3 separate regions of the Homo sapiens genome follow, and regions 1 and 2 are each linked to region 3. Evidence: promoter capture Hi-C in 16 types of primary human blood cells and fetal thymus (Javierre and others, 2016). All regions are on one chromosome and are shown on one strand. The core of a region is centred on a gene start or on the middle of the fragment in contact, and the rest is flanking DNA. Distances in the headings are between cores, read along the strand shown. Region 1 overlaps ATP11A (ATPase phospholipid transporting 11A). Region 2 overlaps ATP11A (ATPase phospholipid transporting 11A). Region 3 holds the start of ATP11AUN (ATP11A upstream neighbor lncRNA).

The links. Contacts are between HindIII fragments. The CHiCAGO score rates a contact against its expected background, and 5 or more counts as called.
Region 1: a contact is called between a fragment that was not itself captured here and the fragment with the promoter of ATP11AUN in region 3, in 1 of 17 cell types (endothelial precursors). The highest score is 8.2, in endothelial precursors.
Region 2: a fragment that was not itself captured here is called in contact with the fragment with the promoter of ATP11AUN in region 3 in 3 of 17 cell types (endothelial precursors, M0 macrophages and M2 macrophages); the score reaches 6.1 in endothelial precursors.

Annotation. Positions count from the first base shown.
Region 1 is chr13:112,858,370-112,862,665 of GRCh38, forward strand. It overlaps ATP11A (ATPase phospholipid transporting 11A), which reads left to right. Exons shown (of 30, transcript NM_015205.3): 23 at 1,024-1,083; 24 at 1,918-2,045; 25 at 4,071-4,206. Among named protein-coding and RNA genes, the nearest start is that of ATP11A-AS1, 110 kb to the left of the region's middle. The HindIII fragment of the contact is 744 bases long and covers 879-1,622 here.
Region 2 is chr13:112,840,998-112,844,884 of GRCh38, forward strand. ATP11A (ATPase phospholipid transporting 11A) reads left to right here. Exons shown (of 30, transcript NM_015205.3): 17 at 1,279-1,382. Among named protein-coding and RNA genes, the nearest start is that of ATP11A-AS1, 88 kb to the left of the region's middle. The HindIII fragment of the contact is 661 bases long and covers 1,166-1,826 here.
Region 3 is chr13:112,644,745-112,648,567 of GRCh38, forward strand. It overlaps ATP11AUN (ATP11A upstream neighbor lncRNA), which reads left to right and starts at 2,300. Exons shown (of 3, transcript NR_164109.1): 1 at 2,300-2,854. RefSeq lists an enhancer at 3,006-3,823. The HindIII fragment of the contact is 10,476 bases long and covers 1-3,823 here.

The DNA of each region.
Region 1 (4,296 bases), core at 1-2,500, 210 kb after region 3:
GATGCCACAAGAGGTCATTGATCTCCGAGGAGCAGCAACTGTCAGAAAGGAAGGGGTGAATCTGATTGCAGTCATCTCTTGCTTAGCTGTGACTTTGCTTTTTACAGTTTCCATTACCTACAGTCAACCCATGCCCAAAAATATCAAACGCAAAATTGCAGAAATAAACAGTTCCTCAGGTTTAAATTGCATGCCATTCCGAGCAGCGTGATGAAGTCTCACGCCGTCCTGCTGTCTCCTTCCTGGGATGTGGCTTGTCCCTTTGTCCGGTGTGCCGATGCTGTGTGTACACTACCTGCCCCTCAGTCACTCTGTAGCTGTCTTGGTGATGAGGTTGACAGATCACAAGAAGAAGGGTGAATATGACACAATAATATATTTTAAGAGGAGGAGGGAGAGACCAAATTCATGTAACTTTGATTACGGTATATTATTATAGTTATTCTATGTTTTGTTGTTACTCTTTCACTGCACCTACTTTATAAATTAAACTTTATCATGGGTGTGTATGTATACGAACACACATACCCATCTAGAGCATAGACAGGGTTCAGGACCATCCGCAGACTCTGCATCCCCCCAGGGTCTGGGAATGTACCCCTGAGGATGAGGAGGGCCTGCCGTGCCGCGGGAGGAGACCCCCAGCCCTTTTCTCCCCCCACAGAATTGAGTGTGGAACCAGTGAGAACCTTTCAGGTGGAAATGTTTGAGGAAGGATTCCTTATTCACTGTGCAGTTCGATTCTTTCCCGTTTATACTGATACCTGCATTGCCTTCTTGTTTCTCTTGGAGCTGACAAATTTCCTCTATACGTTGTCTGTCCTGAGTGGCCAAAACGTGGTCACATGTGCATTTCAGTTGCCCCTGAAATAAGAGAAAGCTTTCTAGAACCCATTAGTGCTGTTCTGCCGCACGCTGGGTGCACGTGGATCCCTCCTCCCATGTGGGGTGGGCCACGTCGGTAGGTGGCGGCTGCCTCCCTCTGTCCCGTCACCGAACTAACAGTTATGCCTTGCCTTTCAGAACGTCTGCTTCATCTTCCCTCAGTTTTTATACCAGTTCTTCTGTGGGTTTTCACAACAGGTCAGTCCTAGGGTCTTCAGGGACAGGCTGTCTGAGCCTTCTTTTCCTTCCCGCAGTGGGTGGCTGCTGTGGGGAGGGGAGACTTGGGAATGAGCAGCACTCCCCGGCACCACGAGGGAGCCAGGGTGCCCAGCAGCAGGCGGGGGTGAAGGGTCGGGCCTGGGGAGGGGGGCCACGGAGCTGAGGAGTTGCCGTCCTGGAGGCCCCTTGTTCCATGTCTTCTGAAACTGCCGTGGCCCTGAGATGCGGGCCAGTGATGATGTGGTCTCCTCAGGGCCCAGCAGTGCTGGGCTGGGCATCCTGATGCCACTGCAAGAATTAACTCCAACTCGAGGTCCTTGTGGACATGGGCCACCCCGGTGCCTGGCACGTTAACACATGCAACGTGCCCATAGGGGAAGAAGACAGTTCCCATCCGGGAGGGGTGAAGGACTCCCCGGGCATCTGCCCTAGATGGACACCTCCTTCTGTCACATGTGTGCTCAGTGGTTGGCGGGCCAGCTGCCTTCATGGGAAGTGACTGCGACCAGAGTCACTGAAGCTTGAAGATGGCAATCAGAATTGCAAATGTTTTCTGTGACTTTTTTCCTTTTTTTTTTTTTTCTTGAAGTTTGTGCTGATAGAATGGGATGAGTCAGTGTTAGGCTTTTTGCCAGCTGTGACTTTCATCCTGAAATCACAGTTGATATCACAGACCCTAGTTTATATTGTTAAGCTTTGAAAAGCGCTCTGGTCTTTCTATGCATTTCAGAAAGAAAATATATTTAATCAAAAGATCCAAAAAGTTTGTAACAATGCACTGAGGTGCCACTTCTTGTGACTTTCCTCTTACAGACTTTGTACGACACCGCGTATCTGACCCTCTACAACATCAGCTTCACCTCCCTCCCCATCCTCCTGTACAGCCTCATGGAGCAGCATGTTGGCATTGACGTGCTCAAGAGAGACCCGACCCTGTACAGGTACCATCCTCCAAACAGCCTCTCCTGAGAGCAGAGAGAGTAACTAGGCAGCACTCTGGCAGTTCCTTCCAATAGCCACCTGGCAGACCTCAGTTGAGGGCCAGAAGCATTCGGCATCTGCTGATATTCTTGCTTGATCAGGAGCTTGTTTAAACTGGAAGCAACATAGCTCAAATGGAGATTCTTCAAGTCTTGCTGGATGGTTTATGCTGCATTTGGAACATCTGTGTGGAGCCAGTTTGCACTTTCCTGTGCTTTCTGACAGTCCTGAGGGAGCTGGGGTACAAGCGTCTTCCTCGTTGTGACCCTAGGGAATCTGTGGCCTAAGTTATCCTTTAAAACCATGTGTGTTCCATTCAGTGAGAAAAAACAAAAATTAACAGCTCTGGTTTCAGGGTGTCTTTTCTCCCCGTTATTTTTTAAAAATAATATGGAAGAGATATTTTTCTGCTATTTCAGAAATGCCCCCCAAGGTCTCTGGCAGATTCAATATGTTACTGTTTTCCATGGTCTTTTAAATTGTATTAGTCCATTTTCATCCTGCTGTGAAGACATACCTGAGACTGGGTAATTTATGAAGGAAGGAGGTTTAATGGACTCACAGTTCCACATGGCTGGGGAGGCCTCACAATCATGGCGGAAGGCATGAGGAGCAAAGGCACGTCTTACATGGTGGCAGACAGGAGAGCGTGTGCAGGAGAACTTTCCTTTATAAAACCATCAGATATCGTGAGACTTAGTCACTATTACGAGAACAACATGGGAAAAAACCACCCCCATGACTCAATCACTGCCCACCAGGTCCCTCCCATGATGCGTGGGGATCATAGGTGCTACAATTCAAGACGAGATTTGGGTGAGGACACAGCCAAACCCTATCATAAATTAAAATTTTATTTTTCAGATAATTTTACATCCATATGCAGTTGTAAGAAATAATAGATTCTGTGGGCCCTGATCCCATGTCCCTTAGTGGTGACACGCAAGAAACTGCAGTCCAGCATCACATCCAGTGTACTGATGTTGGTGCCGTTCACCCGTTCCCTTATTCAGATCACCCAGCTTTCCCTGCACTTACGTACATGTGTGTACATGACACGTGTATGTGTGTGTTCAATTCTGTGCAGTCTTCTCACATGCGTGTTTCCTGCATCCACCACCATAGCCAAGACCACTCACTTCCCTGCCTGGGATTCTGCAGGAATCCGTGCATCGGCCTCACTGCCCTCATCAGAATATTTAGCCATTCTGTGGGATCTTGACGGCTTGGATCCAAAAGTAATCACTGTAGGTGATTAAGGACGATGATAAAAAGGCAAACTTCTGAGTTGGTTGTACATCTTTAATAAATCTAAAGAAAATGGGAATAAATCTAAGAAAATGGGAGAAGATATACTGTTCTAGACATGTGTCTGAAAGGAATCCTGCAAATTCTGTCTTATTGAACAGGCATCTTTAATAAATCTAAAGAAAATGGGAATAAATCTAAGAAAATGGGAGAAGATATACTGTTCTAGACATGTGTCTGAAAGGAATCCTGCAAATTCTGTCTTATTGAACAGGCATAAGGTGTCACGTCAGGCGTAAGGTGTCACAGCAGGCGTAAGGCGTCACGTCAGGCGTAAGGTGTCACAGCAGGCGTAAGGCATCACGTCAGGCGTAAGGCGTCACGTCAGGCGTAAGGTGTCACAAGCTCGGTGAACGTCAGGGGTGTGCCTTGTGTTCTCTGTTCGTTGCTTTCAGAAGCAGCAGCATGTGGCAGCATCTCTGTGCCTATGACGATATTGCAGTGAATATGAGAGAGAAAATATCTGAGCAAAAGTTAGCCAAGGACATGAGTGGGTAGTGAAATGCTGGTTGTGATGAACATGCCACATTTGTGGCCAGAGCACAAACTTGATGTTTACTGGCCGTGCACATCTTATCCCATGAAGACAACGTCCAGGGATGGCCACCCCAGAGCCTGGGGGAGGTGCCGGGCCCTGATTCTCGAGGACACACGCTGTGCACCTTTCTCCTCACCAGGGACGTCGCCAAGAATGCCCTGCTGCGCTGGCGCGTGTTCATCTACTGGACGCTCCTGGGACTGTTTGACGCACTGGTGTTCTTCTTTGGTGCTTATTTCGTGTTTGAAAATACAACTGTGACAAGCAACGGGCAGGTCAGTACAGAGCTCGATTGCGCTGACTTAGCTGCTTAGGAATAAAGCCTCCCAAGCCCATATGATGATTTTGCCAAAGCAGAATTCAGT
Region 2 (3,887 bases), core at 246-2,745, 200 kb after region 3:
AGCTTCCTACGCGTGCCGCTCAGGCTGCTGTGGTGTTTCTCCCACCCTGCCGTCACCGCGCCGTAGCACGGCGTTTCCCTGCACCCAGGCACAAACCAGCCGCCTGGCAGAGTGCCACGTGGCTTCGCGGACCAGGGATGCTTCAGGTGCAGAGGGAGCTCTGTGTGTCGGGAGCACCTGCGCCCAGGCACAAACCAGCCGCCTGGCAGAGTGCCACGTGGCTTCGCGGACCACGGATGCTTCAGGTGCAGAGGGGGCTCTGTGTGTCGGGAGCACCTGCGCCCAGGCACAAACCAGCCGCCTGGCAGAGTGCCACGTGGCTTCGCGGACCAGGGATGCTTCAGGTGTAGAGGGGGCTCTGTGTGTCGGGAGCACCTGCGCCCAGGCACAAACCAGCCGCCTGGCAGAGTGCCACGTGGCTTCGCCGTCCAGGGATGCTTCAGGTGCAGAGGGGGCTCTGTGTGTCGGGAGCACCTGCGCCCAGGCACAAACCAGCCGCCTGGCAGAGTGCCACGTGGCTTGGTGGACCAGGGATACTTCAGGTGCAGAGGGGGCTCTGTGTGTCGGGAGCACCTGCGCCCAGGCACAAACTAGCCACCTGGCAGAGTGCCACGTGGCTTCGCCGTCCAGGGATGCTTCAGGTGCAGAGGGGGCTCTGTGTGTCAGGAGCAGGTGACATCACAGCAGAACTGTCGTGGCCTTTGCTGTATGCTGCAGTGCCTGGAAGAGAAACTCGCTTTATCTGAGGCCTGAGAAGCCCACGTTCACAGCACAAGTATGTCCACAGCGATCACAGTGTTACTGGACGTGTGGGAAAAAATGACGCAAACGTTTCCCCTGACTCTTCCAAGTTCAGAGGTGGCCCGGCTGCCTTGCTCTGCATGAGGACAGATGACTCTCCGAAGGGGATTTGTGTTCACCTTCCAGCATTTCAGAAACCAGGACCCCCTTTGGGTCACCCCAACGCCCGTCCCGAGGGCATTTTGTCCCCTTTCGTGTCTTTCCCAGAGAAAAAACAGAGTCCCGGAGCCAAGTTCTTTTCCTCGTTCCTGCCTCTCCTGTGGAATTTCTAGGGTGTAGGAATAAAACGAGGCTTTGGAGGTTATCTGTGGGTTTATTTTTTCCTGACTGTAGCGTGTTAACTGGTCCATTAAAATCTTTAAAAAGCTTTCCACACTGCTATCCCTGTTTTTTGTTTTTTAATAATGGCATAATTTTAAAAAATAATCTAGTCTTCCCCATATTGTGATTAAACTCCTCATTTTTCTCATTTTGTAGGAGAAATTTATCTGTTTTGCAAAGGAGCAGATTCTTCGATATTCCCCCGAGTGATAGAAGGCAAAGTTGACCAGATCCGAGCCAGAGTGGAGCGTAACGCAGTGGTGAGAGCCGGGCTGGGGAGGGCCTCGTGGCGGTCAGCTCCCCTGCTGTCAGGAAGGAATTCCATGTTCCACAAGTTCCTGGCTGGGAATGGCGTATTGTATTCCTTGGGGAATGTTTAGAAATCAGCTGGGCCAGAGGCAGACAGACAGGCAGCCTCAGCCGGCACCGACCCCAGGGGGCCTCCGATACCCAGCCAGGCACAGGCTGTCCAGCCAGGCACAGGCCATCTCCTCCCCAGCCTTGCACAGGGTTTTATTTTCGGGTGGGTGCCAGGTTGGTTGATTGATGTTTTGGGGAGTCAGAATTAGCACGTTTGTGGTTATTGTATTGGAGCAAAAAGTCTTTGTGTTGACGTTTCTAGTGATTTGCTTCAAAACAAATCAGCACTTTCGTTTTCTGTTGTGACATCACCTGTTTGGGTTTCTTTCCCCATCTGGGTCTTAAGCTTGTATGATAAGGTTTCTTTCCACCACTTGTTGTATAGCACCGCCCAGCAGCCCGCACACCTGAGCCTCCCACTCCGTGGGTCCGGCTTTCTGTCTTTGGGGCTGCTGCGGTAGGGGGCCGGCCTGAGTGTCTCTCACAGCAGGGCCTCCCCTCCCCGTCAGACGCGCTAAAGCCGGGCAACACGTGGCTGGGGTGGACACGCTCCCTCCTGTCAGACACCTTAACTCCGGGTGATGCGTGGCTGGGTGGACATGCTCCCTCCTGTGAGAGGTCCTAACGCCGAGCGACGCATGGTTGGGTGGACGTGCTCTCTCCCGTCAGATGTCCTAACGCCGAGTGACGCACGGCTGAGTGCACATGCTCCCTCCTGTGAGATGCCCTAAAGCTACACTGTGCGTGGCTGGGGTGGACGCACTCCCTCCTGTCAGACGTCCTAAAGCTGGGTGACGCATGGCCGGGTGGGCGCGTTCCCTCCCATCAGATGCCCTAACGTTGGGTGATGCGTGGCTGGGTGGACGCGCTCCCTCTGCTCCCCACGTGGCTGCTTTGTCCCACGGTGTCTGCACCCTTCTCCCGACACCACCCTGGGGTCTTCTCCCTCACTCCAGCCCAGGGCAGCACCTCCTCTCACACCGACCTTATCATCTTTTCATGAAAAAGAAACAGTAACTGACAGGCTCTCCTCCCAGAGGTCCAAAATGACGCTGGCCAGAGTGGCTACGCACTGGAAAACAAGACTTCCAAGGCTGGCTCTGCACCAAGGAAGGCTGAACCGAGAGAACCTTGGACTAGAGGTCGTGGTACTCAGCGCTCCCTTCACTGACCATTTAAATGTAAAGCAATGTTTGTCCTCGCTGTCAGTCGCAACACTTGATTACTGTAGATGTCAGAGCATTAAGAATTCCTGCCGATGGACAGGAGCCCTTTCGCTCGCGAGCCCGTGCGTGCAGCAGCCAGAGCCTGTGAACTTCGTGGAATGCTGTCGACGTGCGGATCATCATCTTTACGTTGCTATTAAAACAGCTCCTGGCACTACAAAGTAGCTGCGTTGGAGCCAACAGGAATCCATAAATCAGCAGCAGGTTAAAGATTGTTGAACTTCTCTGTGAGGGATCTGGAAAATACATCACTGACTTCCACCAGCCACAGAGCTGCAGGGTGGGAGCCGAGCGGGTTCCTCTGAGCAGCACAAGCGTCCTGCGCTTCGACACACAATGAGCCTCAGTACAGGGGCGTGTGGGGGCTCCTGAGGGGGCAGCTCCATCTGCAGCTCGCTTTCCAATAGCGCGAGGCTGTGCTTTGCTGTGACGTGGTCGCCGTGCCATGCTGAGCACACGATGGCTACAGGTCACAGGTGACTGGTCCTCCATGGAGGGTCTTCATGGCCTGAGTACCAAATATCTTCCACCTGCTGGATCCCCACTGCTGCTGCCCAGGAGAGTAGGCGCATGGATTATGTGAATTGTGATGATTGTAAAGTCCACTTGCTGCTTGTTTCAGAAAGTCTTCTTGAGATGTAATTGCCATACATTGATCTATACATATTTAAAATGCGAGAGCAGCAAGGGCATTGACACACGAACACACAGGTGGAGGCTTTGCCTGCTGGGAAGGGGACGCATCCCTCACCCTAGAGACTGTCTCGCGCCCTCATACTCCCATCCCTGCCAACTCCCACTCGCTGGAGACCACCGCTCCACTCGCCGTCACTGCAGATTCGTGCCCACCTTCTGGAGCTTCCTATCAGCAGAATCACAAAAGGCGGCTGTTGTATCCGGCGTCTTTCACTCCCATAACTGCTGAGACTCGGCCGTGTGGGCCCGTTCATTTCTGTCGTGAGGAACAGCAGCACTCGTTCAGTTGCCGAGCACTAGCGGTACTAGTTCAGCGGCCGCTAGTCCAAGTACCTCTAGCGGTACTAGTCCAAGTGCCGGGCACTAGCAGTACTAACCAGTCCAGTTGCCGGGTGTTAGTGGTACTAACCAGTCCAGTTGCCGGGTGTTAGTGGTACTAACCAGTCCAGTTGCCGGGCACTAACAGTACTAATCAGTCCAGTT
Region 3 (3,823 bases), core at 1,050-3,549:
GAACCTGGGAGGCAGAGGTTGCAGTGAGCCGAGATCACGCCACTGCACTCCAGCCTGGTGACAGAGTAAGACTCCGTCTCAAAAAAAAAAAAAAAAGGAAATAGGGTCTTTGTGGGTGGAATCAAGTTAAGGTGAGGTCACACTGAAGTAGGGTGAGCTTGGATGCAACCACCAGTGAGTGTCCTTAAAGGAAGGAAATTGGGCCGGGTGCAGTGCCTGTAATCCCAGCACTTTGGGAGGCCAAGGCAGGTGGATCACCTGAGTTAAGGAGTTCGAGACCAGCCTGGCCAACATGGTGAAACCCCATCTCTACTAAAAATACAAAACTTAGCCTGGTGTGGTGGCAGGCGCCTGTGATCCCAGCTACTGAGGAGGCTGAGGCACAAGAATGGCTTAAACCCAGGAAGCGGAGGTTGCAGTGAGCTGAGATGGTGCCACCGCATTCCAGCCTGGGTGACAGAGCGAGAGTCCATATCAAAAAAAAAAGAAGAAGGAAATCTGAACACAGACACACACACACACACACACACACACACACACACACACACACACACACGGGAGACCAGCAAGTGACGTTCAAGGCAGAGGCTGGAGCGATGTGTCCACCAACCAGAGGACACCGAGGATGGCGAGGATGGCGAGGACAGTGAGGATGGTGAGGATGGCGAGGACACCGAGGACGGCGAGGACACCGAGGACGGCGAGGACGGCGAGGACGGCGAGGATGGCGAGGATGGCGAGGACACTGAGGATGGCGAGGATGGCGAGGACGGTGAGGACGGCGAGGACGGCGAGGATGGCGAGGACACAGAGGACGGTGAGCATGGCGAGGACGGCGAGGATGGCGAGGACGGCGAGGACGGCGAGGACGGCGAGGACACCGAGGATGGCGAGGACGGCGAGGACGGTGAGGACGGCGAGGATGGCGAGGATGGCAAGGATGGCTGGCAGCCAGCAGGGGCTGGGAGAGGGGTGAAGGGTCTTCCCCAGAGCCTGCCAAGGGGGCATGTTTCTGCCTACACTTTGACCTTGGGCATTCGGTCCCCAGAACGGTGAGAGAACGCACTTCTGTTGTGTATACTATGCAGTGTGTGACACTTTGTTACGGCAGTCCTAGGACATGAACTCAGGAGGCGTCAGTGACTGGCCAGGGTGTCCTTTCCAAGAAGGTTTTAAAGCAGGACAGTGTCTCAGCTCAGGAGGAAACATCTAAAATGGTGAAGGCGTCGGACCAGCTACTCAGCAGGTAGAAATCATATCTCAGAATGCAAGAAGAGAATTTGAGAAAACTGCTTTGATCTGCAGGTTTTGAAGGAACGGTGGGCATTTTGATGTCACTTTTCTGAGCAATTGTGCTCAAGGCGACCATGTAGACATGGGAAGGCATAACTGTCTGTTTCTAAGCACTGCTGGTAACAGACACCCCTGATCAGACAACCCGATCATTCCTCATCCCAGACCTCCCCCTTTTCCCTGCTAAGGAGATGCTGGCCAGGGAAGAGGCGAATTCACTCAATAATTCAGCAAAATAACTCGATGACTTTTTTTTTTTTTGAGACGGAGTCTCACTCTGTCACCCAGGCTGGAGTGCAATGGTGCCGGCTCGGCTCACTGCAACCTCCACTGCCTCCCAGGTTGAAGTGATTCTCCTGCCTCAGCCTCCTGAGTAGCTGGGACTACAGGAGCCCGTCACCACGGCTGGCTAATTTTTGTATTTTTAGTAGAGACAGGGTTTCACCATGTTGGCCAGGCTGGTCTGGAACTCCTGACCTCAGGTGATCTGCCCACGTCGGCCTCCTAAAGTGATTTAAAAAGGAAATATTCCCTCCTCCCCACTTTCATCTGGTTGTTCACATACTAATTCTGAGAAACACAGCCATTGCACTTTGATACTAATTATTCCATTTCTTACAATCTTTAACCAATACTCTGACAAATTGTTAATTTAAGAAGAATTTGCAAAGCAAGTAACCCTACTATGTTTTTTAAAAGGCAGACAAGAAAAGAGTGTGTGAAAGTGTCTCTTACTGTAACCTGCCCTGGAAGGGTAAGCCTTTTAAAATCACAGCCTAACACACCTGAATTCTGCATCGAGAACTTCAGCTTTCTGTGGTGTGTGACCGTATAATACAAGCTACATATGGTGGTGACCTACCAGTTTGGGTTGAATTAAATATTGAAAGCAAACTCCAGAAATATCTAAAAGGAAACACACCAGCAATATTGTATTGATTGTGGTAGGCTGCTTAATAATTAATTCCCTCACCTCAGTTTTTGAATGTTGTTCTGTTTATGCCTCAGTATCAAAAACAACTGAGAAAGGGGCCGCAGCTCCGGCCTTCATCTGCTATTGCAAATTCGGAGCAGGGTGCTACTGGGGGGTGGGGGAGTAAAGAGAACGGGCCCTTTCTTCGTGTGTCCACTTCGTAGGAACCCAGGCAAGAGTACCCAAGCAGACCTCTGCTTAAAGCAAAAACAGACTGAAGTTGTTTTCCCCTCAACACGGTGACCATCCCCAGGTTTAGCAGAGAGAATCTAAACAATGACCCTTGCAAACACAGCAAGGATACCGACAAACGCTGGAAAGCTCAGCTGTGGAGTTTTAGTCGTGGCTGAGTTTAGGTGGCCTTGCTTCAACGCCATCAGGGTTTTGAACACCGTCGGGGGGAAGACGCCAGTCTGCTCAAGTGGTGCCCAAACCAGAAATGCCAGTGTCATGTCCACGTTTCCGCTTCTTCGGAGAAGGGACCTGTCTCACACGTCCAGCCAGAGCTTCTGAGCTGGAGATGCAACCCTGCGACAGAGAAGCCCTGGTTTGTAATCATACCGAGCTTGGGCAAGGAGGCCGGAAAAGGTAGGTTCTATGTCTTGGGTGGGGCCTTGCTTAATTCTTTTTTGTTGTTGTTGTAGTTTTGAGATGGAGTTCCACTCTTTCACCCAGGCTGGAGCGCAATGGCACGATCTTGGCTCACTGCAACCTCCACCTCCTGAGTTCCAGTGATTCTCCTGTCTCAGCCTCCCAAGTAGCTGGGATTACAGGCATGCGCCACCATGACCGGCTAATTGTTGTATTTTTTAGTAGAGACAGGGTTTCACCATGTTGGCCAGGCTTATCTCAAACTCATGACCTCATGATCCGCTTGCCTCAGCCTCCCAGAGTAGTGGGATTACAGGCGTGAGCCACCGTGCCACGCCTCCTTGCTTAATTCTTAAAAGGCCTGATTGAGTTACGGATTTAACAACTGAATTCGTGAAAATAATCTCACTGGAAGGATTTTGCCAACAGGAAGAGTTCGGGATTGTTCATGGGCATTTTTTGTTTTGTTTTGTTTTCCTCATCACATGCAAAGCCTTCCTTGTTCCACCCACAGATGGGAGATGGAGACGAGTCTTTTCCTGACCAGGTTGTCAAGGCTCACGGGGGGCACACAGACCCTTCGGTCAGCTCCTACCTGCAGCCGGGAGCGGTACTGAGTGCCCAGCTTCAGGTTTCACGGATCTCGCAATGATCCTGACAGGCGCAGCAGCAGGGGGCCCAAGCAGGGTGGTGACTGCCCTGGGGGGCTCAGATAAAGCCAGCAGCACAGGAAAGCACAGCAGGGGCGGGTTTGTAAAGCAAGGGTGATGGTGAGGGGAGGGTTACCACATGGAGCCTGGGGCCGGGCCAGGCAGGAGAAAGAGGGCCTCATTCTGTTTTTCTAACCTTTGTTAGTTTCAGGTTTTAAGTACTGTGAGTATTCAAATTTGGGCTCCTTGCATTACCTGGTTTATGCAGGTAGAATGTAGAATACTATATATTAGGCCAAAAGACCAGTGAAAGCAA